Regions from separate parts of the Homo sapiens genome. Here region 2 is linked to region 1. Evidence: promoter capture Hi-C in 16 types of primary human blood cells and fetal thymus (Javierre and others, 2016). All regions are on one chromosome and are shown on one strand. Each heading gives the region's core, a stretch centred on a gene start or on the middle of the fragment in contact. The rest is flanking DNA. Distances are from core to core; before and after follow the strand shown. Region 1 holds the start of CCN5 (cellular communication network factor 5). Region 2 has its middle 16 kb from the start of YWHAB.

The links. Contacts are between HindIII fragments. The CHiCAGO score rates a contact against its expected background, and 5 or more counts as called.
Region 2: a fragment that was not itself captured here is called in contact with the fragment with the promoter of CCN5 in region 1 in 5 of 17 cell types (M2 macrophages, M1 macrophages, M0 macrophages and 2 more); the score reaches 9.5 in M2 macrophages.

Annotation. Positions count from the first base shown.
Region 1 is chr20:44,712,831-44,718,492 of GRCh38, forward strand. It overlaps CCN5 (cellular communication network factor 5), which reads left to right and starts at 2,539. Exons shown (of 4, transcript NM_003881.4): 1 at 2,539-2,620. The coding sequence starts at 2,561. It overlaps KCNK15-AS1 (KCNK15 and WISP2 antisense RNA 1), which reads right to left. Exons shown (of 5, transcript NR_132377.1): 4 at 3,795-3,963. It overlaps LOC124904911 (a long non-coding RNA gene), which reads right to left and starts at 1,944. Exons shown (of 2, transcript XR_007067598.1): 1 at 1,111-1,944. RefSeq lists a silencer at 1,838-2,132. The HindIII fragment of the contact is 18,609 bases long and covers 281-5,662 here.
Region 2 is chr20:44,866,939-44,872,044 of GRCh38, forward strand. No RefSeq gene overlaps it. Among named protein-coding and RNA genes, the nearest start is that of YWHAB, 16 kb to the right of the region's middle. The HindIII fragment of the contact is 2,555 bases long and covers 107-2,661 here.

The sequences.
Region 1 (5,662 bases), core at 1,289-3,788:
GGCAGATCTAAATAATTTCAGTGGTAAAATACTTTGTCCTGAAAATACCCTTTATTGATCTAAGTTCTAACAATTGGTGCAGTAACTGTTGGGGTTTAATAATGTATATGTAAAGCTTCAAATCAGCACATTTTTATTCTTATCCTTTAATAAACATATTCTACATGGAAGTCAACTTGACTTGGAGAACTTTAAGAATCCTATAGTTGCCCCCAGAGCATGTGGTCTCAGGAACACACATCAGTTGAGAGTAAGCTCCTCACAACTCTGGAATCTTCCAAGCTTGCTTTGAATGCATTCCTGTCTCCACCGTCCAGCATTCATATTTCTGCATTTATTTTTATTATTATTTTGTGTGTGTGACAGAGTCTCTCTCTGTCGCCCAGGCTGGAGTGCAGCGGCAAGATGTCGGTTCACTGCCACCTCCACCTCCCGGGTTCAAGCAATTCTCCTGCCTCAGCCTCCTGAGTACTTGGGACTATAGGTGTGCACCCACCACGTCCGGCTAATTTTTGTATTTTTTTTTTTAGTAGGGACGGGTTTCACCATGTTGGCCAGGCTGGCCTTGAACTCCTGATCTCAGGTGGTTCTCCCACTTTGGCCTCCCAAATTACAGACGTGAGCCACCGGCCCAGCTGTATTTCTGTGTTTAAACAGTAGAGTGAAATCAACTATGAACGCAGAATGATGGGAAAGATGACGATAAGGGTATTTCAATTTTGTCATTTTACGAAACTACTTGGAGTTTTGATTTGTATTTACAGTTTTTAAAAGAGTAAAACAGTGTGAACTGTGAATGGTAATGATTTTGTTTGGTAAGTGCAAATTTTAATTCATACATGAAAAATATTTGTTTTGTTTCATGATTATTACTGAAAATAATTTTGTACTATGAAGGAAGAGGGGTGTTAAAAATGATCCACTGTGGATGTAAATTATTCTAGGCATGCTTCTGACTAAAACATTAGCATTTCCACAAGAATCCCAAAAAATAAAACAAAATTTAAAAGATCCCTTCTGTTTCTTTTCCTCCAAGTTTCCAGACCCCCATCTCCACCCTGGCCACCTCTTCCTGCCATAAATAATCAAATCCCACACTTTCATCTTCACCTTCCGTTTCCATTGCCTCTTCCGATGGGACAGCACCCGTGGGGAATCTCCTCCATGCTCACAATCCCCGTCTTGCCACTATATCAAGTCACACTTCTTCCTCACCAATCGCCCATTCTGGAACCTCTGCTATCCAGCTAGATCACTTTGAGGTTTGGACAACTACTGGTGGAGGTAATGGGGGCCCCAGACAGCCCTTGACATCACCTCTTTTATCTTTGCCAAATTCTACAAACAAAGCCCATGTCTTTCTGTCCCCCGCCCCCATGGCTGGCACATAGTAGATGTCCCCAAATCTTGGTGATGTGAACTTGTGTGTCTCACCCTTCACAGACATCACCATTTCCCGTTGCACAGAAGGCTCCACTCATACCAGGCGCTTTGGCTCCCAGAATAAGCAGGCTATCATGCTATGTCCGACATCTAGGCGTTGGTACGTACTGTTCCCTTGGCCTGGAACATTCTGCCCTCTCTCACCCTCTCTTTTCTTGGCTTTCTGAAATGGCACCTCCATCAGAAAGTGTCCCTCACTCTTGGTCTGAGCAAGGGACCTTGCCTGGTATTCCTGAACTTCCACCTGTTTTCCCTCTGTTTTCTCCCTCTCTGGGCCTTGTCCTCAGGTCAGTGTTGTGCCTCCAGCTCCTGCAGAGGCGAACTCAGAGGCGGCCGAATGAAACCAAATGGATTTGGCTTGACCCCATCATCTAGCGGTGCCCAGCAAGCGCTGGCACATAGTAGGTCCAGCCTGCCCGGACTCGCCCACCACGGGCCCCCTTCCAGAGCCGGGAGGCAGGCCAAGGGAGGCCCCTTATTGCCAAGAGCAAACAGGCCGCCCAGGGAAGTTTTGCTCTGGGTCACACCCACCTCTGGGTGGCTGCCAATCTGCCTGCCAGAAACCGCAGGCTGGGCCGCGGCTACCCAGAGTCAGGGCCACGGAGCTTAGGAGACCTTGGGTCAGCTCTGCAAAGGGGTTGTTTACTGAATGCTTCTGGTATCTGCAGCCCCGCTGGGGTTCGGACAGGGGGTCTGGAATAGGGCTTCACAACTACAGCAGGGCTAGGACCCTCTTGGGCTGGAAGGAGCTGGAGAGGCCTCTGCAAGCTGTCACAGGCTCTTGGTGCTGGCACTGGCTCAGGCTTTCACACACACACACGCGCACACACACACACACACACACACGGACAGGCACCCCCTTGGTGGCCTTCACAGTTTCACCTTCAGGTAAATGGGCTCATCCTTTGAGCCATGAGGATGGGAAGCGAAGCAAGGAATGAAAAAGCTAGTGTGTTTGTGTGTGTGTGTGTGTGTGTGTGTGTGTGTGAGCGCGCGCGCGCGCGCGCGTGTGTACTCGTGCGTGTGCCTGTGTGTGCCTGGGAGTGACCTCACAGCTGCCGGAACATAAAGACTCACAGGTCCGCCTCCCAGGCTCAAAGCTGGCTCTGCAGGGGACATGAGAGGCACACCGAAGACCCACCTCCTGGCCTTCTCCCTCCTCTGCCTCCTCTCAAAGGTAAGGAGGCCCGGGCCCTGGAATGCACTGCTGACTATTTGGGTGTGGAGGGGGTGGGGATGTAAAATCGCAGCCAAGGACCCCCTTGGCAGAATTCCTCCAGGGCCCCACATTGGGCACAGTCTGGCCCCCATGCCTAAGCAGGGCTTCTCTCCCTGGAACTCAGAGCTGCCTCCGGCCAGCCCTGCTGTGTGACCTCAGATATGTGTCTTGCCTTCTCTGGGCCTCAGCATCTTCCCAGGTGAAGGGTATACAGTTTGTGAGGCCTCTGTGAAGACCATTCATGATCATTCATCAAACTTACCAGGCAAATTGAAGAGGACTTTAATGTATCCTCATTATGAATGGGGGCACTCAAGACATGACATGCTTGGCCTAACTCTGAGCCAGCATTTGGATGGATGCCTAGCTGATTGGAAGGTTCATTCTGCAAGGGCATCAATGCTGTTGGACTCTTAGGCAGTGAGTGACCCGCCCGCCCTAGCTAGAGGGGAACAGGAGACACCTCTGTGGAGTAATGGCCTTATCCCTGAATGCTGCATGGGACATTCACCAAAGAGCCTGTGGGACATCTACCTTGTCTAACATGCACAACAATCCCATAAGGAATTTTCAGTTAAGTGAGGCTCAGAAAGGGTAAGCAACTTGCAACCCCAGTTTTCAGTCAAGTGAGGCTCAGAAAGGGTAAGCAACTTGCCCAAAGCCACACAGCAAAGAAAGGTCAGAGCAATAGAGGAGAGCCATGGTGGAGCCCAGAATGACATGGATGTAGGGGGAGAAGCACTCCAGTCTGTGCCTCCCCAAGCCCAAACTGGACCAAGGCCACAGCTGCTAAGCCTTGTCATCCCCTCGGCAAATGCTGAGTTCCCAGAGCCATGGAATCGGCCCCACCACAAGCCACGATCTCACTGTATTTTCACGCTCCTTTGAGGAGCACGGGCAGGAGCTTCTCTCCCTCAGGCTCCAAGTCTTCGTGCCTGGGAAGCCTGAGAACCACGCTGGCATCCTGTCCTGCTGTTTGTTCTTCCAAAGGGGATGGGTAGGGCATGATGCCAGTGTGGGTGGCTTGGGTAGTTGGAATAGGGGACTTGGGGCTCTAGGAGGGAGAAGGGGCCCAGGATTATACGAGAACAAAGTAAAGCTGTCCTAGACTTGCCATTAGGGTGAGACTTACGGGACCATTCTTCCCTGGTCCCAGGAAGCAGGGACTGCACAGAAACACAGGGACTTAGTCACCACAACATGGAAAGCCACAGCAACCCTCAGAGGGAGAACTGTAAGTCTTCCAGGCTGGCCGTTGGCTCCGGGGCTCCTGGCTGTGGACCGGGGCAGGAGGCAGACACCTGGACACAAGCAAAATCACATTGATCAAGGACTGGCCAGAACCTCATTTAATCTCCATCATCACTCAGAAACAGGTTGTCTCTACTCCAGTTTACAGAGGAGAAAACTGAGCTTCACCTCCACCTTCCAAAGCCGTTTGTCCACATGTTCAGTCACGTAGCAAGTCACTGGCAGAACTTGAATCTCAACTCTTGCCCAAAAAACTCCATGCCCAGTACTCCTGCCCCAGATATCATGAGCCTTGCCCCCCACCACCAGATATCACAGCAAGGCCCTGGGGAAACTGAGGCACAATGGGACAACTTGAGTTTGGGCCTTGGATGTCAACTTGAACTTGGATGTCAATCCTGATTCTGTCTCTTACTGGCTGTGTTACTACACGGTTTGAGCTCCAGTTTTCTCATCTTTAAAATGGGCATAATGATGGCACCTCACATTGGAGGGGTAAATGAGACAACAGCACTTGGCACATGACATACATATGGTATCACATGAGATAATTGTACACTAGAATAGTTGATATCATTAATAGCCTCTCCTGGGTATCGGGGCCTACAGAGTCCTGCCCCCTGACAAGCATGGCCAGTAGAGGGGTCCACAGTGGGAGCCAAGGTGCACAGCTGCTGGTCTATTTCCTGGCACTCCTGTTTTCAGGTGGGAGGGACCTGAGAGTCATTTCTGACAGTCCTCCCTCCATTGCCCACAAGCCAAGGGAGCTGAACCTCTGACTTAGAAGGGAACCCAAAAGCCTAGACCGTTTCTATGTGAATCACCTGTGGATTTATGAAAATGCAGATTCGGGCTGGGCGTGGTGGCTCATGCCTGTAATCCCAGCACTTTGGGAGGCCGAGGTGGGTGGATCATGAGGTCAGGAGTTTGAGACCAGCCTGGCCAGCATGGTGAAACCCCGTCTCTACTAAAAATACAAAAAATTAGCTGGGCATGGTGGCATGCACCTGTAATCCTAGCTACTTGGGAGGCTGAGGCCTCCCAAGAATTGCTTGAACCTGGGAGGCGAAGGTTGCAGTGAGTCGAGATCGTGCCACTGCACTCCAGCCTAGGTGACAGAGCAAGACTCCATCTCAAAAAAGAAAAAAAAAAAAAAGAAAGAAAAAGAAAAGAAAATGCAGATTCGGATTTATTATATAAAAATTCAGCTTCGGATTTATAGAGGGGCTCCAGATGCTGCCTCTCTGACAAGCTCCTAGATGACGCTGCTGCTGCTAGTTCAGACCACACCTTGAGGGGCGAGGCTAGGCCATCGTCTCTAGAATCTGAACAGCCTGCAGCGATGGGATCCACTCCCTTGTGAGGCAGCCAGACACCTAGCTCCGTGTGTCCATCTGCTACTCAGTGCTGTCTCAGTGGGGGCTGTGATCGCCTCCTACTTTGTGGCCCCCACCAGAGGCTGGTCAGCCAGTTTGCAATGGCTCCTAGTGGCCGGCGTGGGAGTTGCCGGGAACTGAAAGCAGGTTTGCAGGATTGTGGGTAGTGGGGGCACTGGGCGGGGCAGAGGGTGAGGCAGAGCAAAGGGGTCATTGCCTGCTTTGGGGCTGCACAGGAGATATGAGGTCATTAATTCCATCATTATAAACTGCAAGCCTCCATTCCTCTAGATGAAACCCTCATCCCCTAAGGATCCTACTAAACTCAAACTTGGCCCCCCAAAGATGGGGCCACTGGAAGCATCTTGAATTA
Region 2 (5,106 bases), core at 134-2,633, 150 kb after region 1:
CTCAGATCAATAGCCCTTGGGAAGTACTGCAGACAGTCTCTGAGATGCACCCTAGCTGCTCCTGCAAAGGAATTGCTTTCTTTCTGACTCAGTTTCACTTGAATTAAGCTTCTTCTGCTTTATGAAAGCAGCCTCCTTCCAGAGCACAAGTTGACATCAACCCAGAACCAGAAAGAAATCAGTGGCTGGAACTTGTCTTATTCATCTCTGGAAAGTCCAGCTCTCCAGCAGAGGCTTAGAATTCTATTTCCTTTTTTGTTTCTTAGTCATTGCGCTTGAGAAGGCATTTAAAGATGCTCTTTGGCTAGAGTAAGTGCTCAGTAAGCATTTGTTGGCGAAGGGATAAAACAGTAAAGATGGAATAATCAGCATTTGGTAAATGGTTGGTGAAGGAGAATCAAATGAGATAACACATGTGAAATTGATATGTAATCTGTGAATAGTGAAAATTGTTCCTGGCCAGGCGTAGTGGCTCACACCTGTAATCCCAGCACTTTGGGAGGCCGAGGTAGGCGGATCACTTGAGGCCAGGAGTTCAAGACCAGCCTGGCCAACATGGTGAACCCCCCCCCTATTAAAAATACAAAAATGAGCCAGGCGTGGTGGCACATGACTGTAATCCCAGCTACTTGGGGGGCTGAGGCAGGAGAATCCCTCAAACCTGGGAGACGGAGGTTGCAGTGAGCCGAGATCGTGCCATTGCACTCCAGCCTGGGCGACAGAGCGAGACTCCATCTCAAAAAAAAAGAAAAAGAAAAAGAAAAAGAAAAAGAAAACCAAAGGGACTCGTCCGCAGCGTTATCTGCTGGCGCCATCTTCCGGAAATAAGTTAGCACAACAGGTCTATTTCTGTTTCAGCGGGGCGTGAGGGCACTGGAAATGCAGGCAAGGAGGGGAAAAGAGAGAATGAATTTTAGCAAAATCTCTCCATCTCCTCTGTCCTGGATCATCTAATTACTCTACCAAGATTATCATTTTAATGTAATAGTACTACTAACATGCTAGCACTTGTTTTGAGCACCTAGTACGTACCAGATACTGTGCTCAGTGTTTTACATGTGTTATTTCATCCTCACAGTAACTGCAAGAAGTGTATATAGTAAGTCCTCACTTAACTTCTTCGATGGGTTCTTGGAAACTGCGACTTTAAGCAAAATGATGTGCAGCACGTCCTCAAGTAATGTCCTTCCATTATGATTATGAGGGAAAAAATGGTTTCATCATACATCATTTCACTTAAAGTTGCAGTTTCCAAGAAACTATCAACATTCAGTTGATATTAAAAACCCGAGGCATACAAGGTGTATAGTGGACTTATCATCTCTAGGATTACATATCTAGTTGGTGTTTGGGATAAGACTGAAACCCAGTTCTGTCTGACTTCAGAGCCTGTGGTGGGCTGTTGTGAGTCAGGTCCCGAGGAATCAGACTCCAATATGGAGATTTGAAGTCAGGAAGTCTATTGCAGAGTGCTGTCGGGATTACATCTGTGGAAAGGAAAAGTCAAACTGCAGTGCAACCTCAGCAGAGGCCTTGGCTAATGCCATGGGGAATATAGAGCTGGGATGGCAAGAGGACAGGACCTTGGAATGTCCACCTCGAACAGTCATAGGGACTCAGCTGAGAGCTGCCAGCAGCCAATGCTCCCAGCAGCTGGGGGAATAAATGCCCCATCCTGGGGATGGGGGTCTGGGTGGCACACCACAGTATGCACTGCAGCGCCCACTACCTATTCCCCATGCATTGCTCCTCAAATAAGGGAGATGGCTGGGAGGGAGACAACATCAGTGATGGGGTAGTGGAGGAGGAATTCAGAGAGTAAAAATGGTTTTGTCTGTCTTCCATCCACCTGTGACCTAGGCTATGCATGCCATCCAGCTGCAATAACCAATACATTTGGGTCATTCATGTTGATATAATGTATGGATTATTTTATGGGTTGCAAGCCATTAACAAATAAATAAAATGCAATATTCCACTGGCTGATTGGAGATGCATTCTTTGACATTCTCAAATAAGAAATGGAAGAATTGGCCAGGCACAGTGGCTCACGCCTGTAATCCTAACCCTTTGGGAGTCCAAGGCTGGGGGATCACTTGAGGTCAGGTGTTTGAAACCAGCCTGGCCAACATGATGAAACCCCATGTCTACTAAAAATACAAAAAAAAAAAAGCCAGGCGTGGTGGTGGGCGCCTGTAATCCCAGCTACTTGGGAGGCTGAGGCAGGAGAATCACTTGAACCCAGGAGTCGGAGGTTGCAGTGAGCCGAGATCATGCCACTACACTCCAGCCTGGGCGATAGAGTGAGATTCCATCTGAAAAATAAAAATAAAAATAAAATAAAAAGGAGATGGTGCCTTCTGCCCTGGGGTTAAAAAAATTAAAAAATTAAATTAAAAAGAGATGGATCTATTTGTATAATATGGAAAGACCTCTAAGACATATTTTTGCATGAAGAAATAAGATTCAGTACCCTAATAAACTATATAAAAATTATATCTATTTCTAGAGTTTTACATACACTATAAAAGGATGGAATTTTACCGACTTGCCCTATGGAAGGATTCTACATCCCCACCCCACGTAAGTCAGGCATAGCCATATGATTTGCTTTGGCCAAGGGAATTTGAGTGGAAGTGACATGTGAGACATCCAAGCAGAAGCTTTAAGAGGCTCCCCCATTCTCTCTTTTCCTTATTCCATGAGATCAGCATGTTCCAGCTGCTTCTTCCAGCTGTGTCCAGAGATACAGCTGAATTCAACCCATCACAAACATGCAATTAAGATATAAATTTTTAGGCTGGGCGCAGTGGCTCACGCCTGTAATCCCAGCACTCTGGGAGGCTGAGGCAGATGGATTGCTTGAGCTGGGGAGTTCGAGACCAGCCTGAGCAACATGGTAAAACCCTGTCTCCACAAAAACCACAAAAAATTAGCTGGGCCTTGTGGCACACATCTGTAGTCCCAGCTACTTGGGAGGCTGAGATGAGAGGATCACCTGAGCCCAGGAGGTCGAGGCTACGGTGAGCCATGATCATGCCACTGCACTACAGCCTGGGAGACAGAGTGAGACCCTGTCTCAACAAAAAAACAAACAAACAAAAGACATAAACTTTTATTAATATAAGACACTGAGACTTTGAGGATGTTGTTATTGTAGGTTATTGTAGCATAACCTAACCTACCATCACTGATAATACATGTTGCTATATATAACTGATATGTGGTTACTTCTGGGGAGGAGAAATGGCATTGGGAGGTGGCGATCATAGGGAATTTTAGTTTTTAATCTTTAATATTTTAGTTTTCTTACAATAAAAATATATCCACACATTACTATGTAATAAATATACATTATTTTAAAATGAATACAGCAGGTATTTCCCTACTTAAAATTAAATGCCAAAAAATATCTTTTTTTTTTAGACCGAGTCTCGCTCTGTTGCCCAGGCTGGAGTGCAATGGCATAATCTCGGCTCACTGCAACCTCCGCCTCCCGGGTTCAAGCCATTCTCCTGCCTCAGCCTCCTGACTAGCTGGGATTACAGGCGCTGGCCACCATGCCCAGCTAATTTTTGTATTTTTAGTAGAGACGGGGTTTCACCATGTTGGACAGGCTGATCTCAAACTCCTGACCTCAGATGATCCACCCACCTCGGCCTCCCAAAGCGCTGGGATTACAGACATGAGCCACTGAGGAGCTCTATTTCTGATTAAACCTATAGACCTCTCTGAGTTAGGATCTCAGCCCTTGTTCCATTAAAATGAAAAGCCAAAATTGGTTGCATGTATAGCAAAGACCTTGAAATATCATAGACTGCCTTGCAATTTCAACTTCTCATTCAAGCCAAACAACAGCCCTCTTTATCTTTGAAGTTTACTTTTGAGCAAAATCAAAGTGGCTAGACTCCCTGATCCACTGCCTAGTCCCCAGCTTCATGTGTGTCAGATAGTTACAGTGACCAGAGCAAGAGTAGCAGCAGCACCTCTGGCCTCTCAATCACATCTATGGTGACTTTGAAACAAAAGCCTCCTGGACTTCTGCAACTCCTGCTCTTCTCATGAATTTGTAACCACCTAATTCCCTATAGTCAATCCCTTTCTGCCTACAATACCTAGAGTGGTTTCTGTTCCTATCTCCTGCACAGAGGCATGACTTAGTACAGGTTGGAAGATAATATTCAGAAAAGAGACACAAAGACAAAAAGATGAAAAATTGGAAAGAAAAAGAAAAAAAAACAGTAAAATTAGAAAGCCATTTCAAGAGGTCAAACACCTGAAAAATTAGAGTTCTGGAAAGTGAAGATATAGAAAATGGGGAGAGGAAGGAAGAAAATATTCAAAGAAATAATTCATGAAAATTATTCCAGAACTGAAGAAAGTATATTTTCAGATTGGGAGAGATCATTGAGGAACAATTAGATGTTATGTGCCTCCTGAGATGACGCCATAGAAAATACAAGTCCTGTCTATAAAATATGATTGCCAAAAACTGAACTGAAATCTAATCAGGCCTCTAGATTGAACTACCAGTTTACAGGACATTGGAGGGATGGTGTCACATTTTAAAACAACATGAAGGGCCGTGCGCGGTGGCTCACGTCTGTAATCCTAGCACTTTGGGAGGCCAAGGCAGGCAGATTATCTGACCTCGGGAGTTCGAGACCAGCCTGGGCAATGTGGCAAAACCCCTTCTCTACTAAAAGTACAAAAATTAGCCGGGTGTGGTGGCACATGCCTGTAGTCCCATCTACCCAGGAGGCTGAGGCAGGAGAATCACTTGAGCCCAGGAGGCGGAGGTTACAGTAAGCTGAGATCGCTGCACTGCACTCCAGCCTGGGCGACAGAGCAAGACTCCATCTCAAAAAAAAAAAAAAAAAGAAAGAAAGAAAGAAAGAAATGAAATCTGAGCAATAACTTCCATGAGCTTGAAGGTAGATTCAGCTCCATGACCTCCAGAAAGGAATGCAGCCCAGCTGACAACTTAATTTTTGCTTTGTGAGACTCTAAGTGGCGGATCCCAGCAGACACACACTATACTCAGTCTTCTTACCTACAGAATTGTGAGATAAGAAGTGGGTTCTGTTTAAGCTACTAAATTTGTAG